Regions from separate parts of the Homo sapiens genome. Here region 2 is linked to region 1. Evidence: promoter capture Hi-C in 16 types of primary human blood cells and fetal thymus (Javierre and others, 2016). All regions are on one chromosome and are shown on one strand. The core of a region is centred on a gene start or on the middle of the fragment in contact, and the rest is flanking DNA. Distances in the headings are between cores, read along the strand shown. Region 1 holds the start of ARIH1 (ariadne RBR E3 ubiquitin protein ligase 1). Region 2 has its middle 2.6 kb from the start of NEO1.

Region 1 (2,693 bases), core at 81-2,580:
AAAGTAGCAATTAGGTCCCAAACAGCAAAGACATAAAAAAGATGTAAGCAGAAGCCTCACCATCTGAAAAGAAGGCCCATCAGCACCTCTTCCGAGAAATACTTCCCTTCCCCCACCTTTAAGTAGGCACTTGAGACTGCCAAGATCCATTTCTTTATTAACTGGTGCCCACTTGGGGCAACTGTACACCAAGCTGCTCTTAGGCCTACTCTAATCCCTTCCAAAAGTGCTCAAATGAGGCTACGGCCGGGGTAAGTCCCGTCAGGGCCCAATTCTTCCTGACTCCTCTTCTCCACCCCACCTCCTCCGCCCCGCCCCAGTAGGCGATCGCCCGGCCAGAGAAAGGACACCCGGCCCAGGGACTGGCAGAAATTGCCCGCAAGAGAAGGCTTAGGCGACCGAAGGCCTCCGCCATAGCAGGACTTGGGAAGCACCGCCCCCAGCGCACCTCCCCACACCCGGCTAATCGGCGAACCTCTGCTTTCGACACCCTCTATCCCCAGCAGAGGCAGCGGAGAAGACAAGGCCGGGAGGCACCGGGCTAGGCTGCGCACCAGGCCCAGGCCTGTCCCTCGGGACCGCGCGTGCCGCCTGAATCCGCTCCCCCGTCGGGCCCGGTCCAGCTGGCGCGGCGGCCACCCTCACCTGGATGACCTCGTTGACCTCCCGGATACATTCCACCATGTGTTGTAGAATCTGCTCGGCCGTGAGCACCTCGTAGCGGTAATCCTCCTCCTGCTCATGCCCCGGCCCGCCACCACCACCGCCGCCGCCGCCGCCGCCGCCACCGCCGGGCCCCAGAGCGCTGCCGCCGCCACCGCCCGTCTCCCCGCACAGCAGTCCGTCCCGCTCCCCGCCGACGCCCAGCCCGGGCTCCACCAGCTCCACCTCGCCCAGATCCAGGGTATCATCGTCCGGCTCGTCGTCGTCTTCGTCCTCCTCCTCCTCGGCGCCGCTGTCCTCCTCACTGCACTCCTCGTCCTCGTCGAACTCGTAGTTGTAGCCCTCGTCCGAGTCCATGGCGCGACGCGCGGGGGCCCGGCGGACGCTGGCCGAGGCGGGGAGAGGGCGGGGACGCCGAGGCCCCGGCTCTCGCTCCGGCTCCGGCTGATGTCCGGACGCAGGCCTGGCTCCGGCCCCGCGAGCCGCGGCTCCTCCCCAGGAGCGGCGGTTGGCGTTTGACGGCTGGTGGCGGCGGGGAGGGCGCGGAGGAGGGAGGGAGGGAGCGAGGGGGCCGCTTGCTGCCCGCCTCAGTCAGACGCGGCTCCGCTCCGGCCTCCGAGAGAAAACAGTCCCCAACGCCACCTCCACGGCCGCTGCTATCGCTACTGAGCCAACAAAGGGGCGTGCGTCACCGCGTCGCGCTGCGTCGTCGCGTCACTCCTCTTTGCGTCACTGCGCCCCGCCCCACCGCCCCTGCGTGGAGCCCGGGGAGACCCCACGGCCCGGCCTTCCTGGGCCTGGGACCCGAGGGGAGCCGAGCGGGAATTGCTTTCCTGGTTCGATCCGCTGCCGCTGTGAGGGCCGAGCGGAAACCCGTAGACCTTTTATGTGAAGAGATTGCGGCCTCCTGGTCACCAGTCACCGAGAGAGGGACCCCTGGACCGCCTACGTGGTGGTGTCTGCCGCAGGCCATAGGGATCCAGCCCACTTAGGCAGTCCCTTGGGGACGCGGCCTTCCCTCCGGAGCGGAAAGGCGCTTCCCGCCCGCCCTGCGGTAATCCCGGAAGCCCTCAGCCGTTAAGCTAAAATTTCTGTTGCTTTGGCTACTGATGGAAACCTGTTGTAAGTGGAACCTCTAAACTGTATGACAGGTGAACCCACTTTAGGTAGCTGTGTGATTCTGTCCACTTGTACAGACGTGCAGTGGTTTTTAAGTCTCCTATAATGACGTCATTTTAAAGAGGCATTTCCTCCACCCCGCTGACAAGAGCGCCTCTTGAGGGCCCTAAACAATGTAAACAGCGATGATTTTCATGAATTGAGCACTGTGTAAGGGCTTTACATATATTCTGTCTCATCTTCACGGAGCCATAGTACCCATTTTATACCTGAGGAACCTGAAGCTCAGAAAGGAAAAGGGACCTGGCCAAGACCACATAACCCTTGCCCTATTTTAACCGCTGGATGCCCCAAAACATGAATCATAAAAATGCTTTGTAATGTAGATATATTATGTACTATGTAGTACATAAAAGACATGAATGCTTCAACAAAATACAGGCAATAATAGAAATATCTACAAGGGCCAAATGTAGCCAGAGAGATAATGCTTGAATCTCATCTGAAAGTGTGCTATGTGAGCTGAGTGTTGATGAATGGCTAGGAGTTCAACAGAGAAGGTAGGGAAGATGGTCTAGCCGCAGAGAACAAGCAAAAGCGCAGAAGGTGTCAAGTAAGTAATAGTTTGGGGAGCTTAAAGTGCATGGAGGGTACATGGCAAAATATTAGGCAAGTTAGTCAGGGGTCATGTCAGTTAAGAGCATTTTATGCCTAAGAGTGGGCTTAAATCTTTGCAAACAGGACATGCGAGCCAGAGAAGTGTTATGAAGGAAGAAGAGGCATAAGAAGGCTCCCTCTTGAGATAATCTGAAGAATTGGCCAGATTGAAAACCTTTTAAAATCAAAACCCCTGATTTGTTGATAAATCTTACTGTTCAACCTATAGGTTCCCTTTGGAAATTGATTTTGAA
Region 2 (2,693 bases), core at 63-2,562, 580 kb before region 1:
AATGGCTATTTCACTAACATATCCCTCTGTGCTTTCTCATAGTTACTTTCCAAAGATATTTTATTCTAAAGCGCCAAAATGAACAATGTAAGACATGGATTAACGTCGGGAGGGAAGAGCTCAGAATCTTCATAAAACCTTAAATCATCAAAACGGTGAAATTAGGAATTCTCATGCTAGTTCTTTGAAACAATTGACTTAATAGAGGAAACACATGCTTATGGTTTTTCACTAGGGAAACCATTTAAATACCTTTTTGTTTTGGTTAGAGTTGTTAACCAGCAAAAATATTTCCTAAATACCCGTGATTGACCTGTTAAATTAGAAATAGATTACCTCCCAATTACTTCACAAGTATTTGCTTAATTAACCTTTAATAATCACATCATTATTCAGTTTTCTGAGATAATTAATGAGAAAAGCTCTTTGAAAACTGTAAATTGCCTTGCAAATGTTAATTTCCTGATATCTTTTCTAAGTCTGGAAAAATTTCATTATATTAAACCTATAACGTGTAATATGACTTCTGAGATGAAGCTTACATTTATCTCCAAGTTTTGAAAAATACATGAGTTGTGGCTAATAACAGACTGATTTTCATATATGACTTATATGAACTGTCTCACTAATTTATCAGCCCACTGTGTATATCAGGTTAATATCAAAAAGTTTAAAACAGTTGTATATTTCTGGCTTCTGATTAAATCACAATTTTAATAAAACCCACTCTATTAAACCACTAGTAGATGGAGCCCCAGATTAAAGCTACAGATCCTAAATCAGTTCAAGATAGTTAAGTAACTCAGGCACACACTTGAATTCAGCTCCTTTACTTTGTTTCAAAGTCACTGACACTGTCGACATGCCCTTTAAAAATCATCATTGAGTAATTAACCTGTTCTTTGTTTAGTAAAGCATATCTGAGAAAAGATTTTCTTAGGCATCTCTTTTATCATTCTTATTCTCCCAACAAGATTTTCAACAAATACTTCAGCCTGCACGTATACTGCTAATCAACACTTTTATGTTGTCTAAACTATCAATCTATGAAGAGATATTAAACCACTGGTGAAATTAACAGTTTTTTCATCTAAGTAAAGTTAGAACATGAGGCCCATGTTCAAGGAATAAGTGCACAAAGAAACTTTAGAGCAAAGAAAACAGAGTGGCCATTGTGTGTCTGTAAAAGTTATCGAAATGCAGGCCAAAAATAACTAGACTGATATCTTGTGAAATTTATGCTAATGTATTTTGATATAAAAATTACATGAAATATTAAAGCCTATGAATATAAAACTTGGTAGGAATCTTATTCTCTATAGTAAAAGGATTTTTTTTTCAACATTAGAAAGGACGTACAATTCAGTGTTTAACTGCTGGCAGTAATGAGATTCTGCAGCTGATTCCCTGGCTGAATCCCAGTGTCCGAGGTTGAGAAGAAGAAAGCTAGTCCCCTGACTAGCAGATCTCAGGATAGAACACTTCCTAGTCACAGCAGACTTCAACTAGAAGTTGCCCCAGTCTTAAGAAAGTGATTTTCTTCTGCACAGAGATTGTTATTTTTATATTTGCCCTTTACATTCCACTAGGTAAGAATTTTTATTTTCTCCCGTTCTCCTTCAGAAGCCACCTGCTCTAGGGAGCCATCTCTGATTAAGCGTAATTAAAAAGGATGTGTGCTCCTTTTTAAGTACAAGCATGCTCAATATTAATTTTGCTTGTCACATGTTGCTTAGTTGATCACATATCTTTAGTTCAACAACAATCTATTAATTCAGCAAAAATTATTGAGGACCTGTTTTCACCAAGTATTGTGCTGGATGCTGGGATAACAAAATTATTGGTTCATTCATTTAATATTTATAAAGTACATCCTGTGTCTCTGGTCCTGGCTTATGTTAAGGGAAGACAGTGATGAGCCAGATAAACAAAGTTCCCAGTCTAGCAGAAAGGGTAAACAATTATAACAAAGAAGTGTAAAGACTGTTATGGTAAGGAAAGATAAGGAGTGTGGGAAAACTTAGTAAGAGCATCTAACTTGACTAAATTGTGTGTGGGGGTGGGAGAAGGAGAATTAGAGAAGCTTTGGCCTCTAAACAGAGACCTGAAGGTAGATAGGAGTCAGCCACGCCTACAGGTGGGATTTGACCTCAGATTTGCGTTTTAGAGGGAACACTGAGGCTGCTTCTTGGAGTGTAGTTTGGAAGAAGTCGAGACCAAAAAAAAAAAAAAACAGTTCAGATTTTGTTACAATAGTCTAGGGAGGAGATGATGGTGGCCTGGAGTAAAGCAAAGGGGATTAAGAAAAGTGAACAGATAAGAGAGAGATTTAGGAGATAGATAGAAACAGCAGGGGTGTGTGGGAGAGATAGGAGATGTGGGTAACTCAGATTTCAACTTGGGAAGCTGAATGAAGGTGGTGGCATTCACTGAGGGGGGAATGAGAAAGATGAGCAGATGGGAGACAATGTTAGTTTAACTTTGGACAAGGAAATTTAAAGTACCTATGCATACATAGGTACTTTAAATACATCTGAGTAGAAATATCAGTAAGCCGTTCATTACTTGGATCTGGAGTTTAGCAGGGAGATAGGACTGGAGAAGTGAGTCATCAGCATACACTACATATGCCTGAGTATAAGGTGCTTCTGAAAATAAGGTGAGCCTCCATTTTTCCAATTAGAATCCACCCC

Evidence for each region. Contacts are between HindIII fragments. The CHiCAGO score rates a contact against its expected background, and 5 or more counts as called.
Region 2: a contact is called between a fragment that was not itself captured here and the fragment with the promoter of ARIH1 in region 1, in 2 of 17 cell types (naive CD4 T cells and activated CD4 T cells). The highest score is 6.1, in naive CD4 T cells.

Annotation. Positions count from the first base shown.
Region 1 is chr15:72,472,967-72,475,659 of GRCh38, reverse strand. It overlaps ARIH1 (ariadne RBR E3 ubiquitin protein ligase 1), which reads right to left and starts at 1,330. Exons shown (of 14, transcript NM_005744.5): 1 at 646-1,330. The coding sequence starts at 1,020. TMEM202-AS1 (TMEM202 antisense RNA 1) reads left to right here and starts at 1,421. Exons shown (of 4, transcript NR_135678.1): 1 at 1,421-1,785. RefSeq lists enhancers at 207-416, 1,867-1,966 and silencers at 967-1,196, 1,239-1,435, 1,287-1,626. The HindIII fragment of the contact is 10,721 bases long and covers 1-2,693 here.
Region 2 is chr15:73,048,473-73,051,165 of GRCh38, reverse strand. No RefSeq gene overlaps it. Among named protein-coding and RNA genes, the nearest start is that of NEO1, 2.6 kb to the left of the region's middle. The HindIII fragment of the contact is 1,546 bases long and covers 540-2,085 here.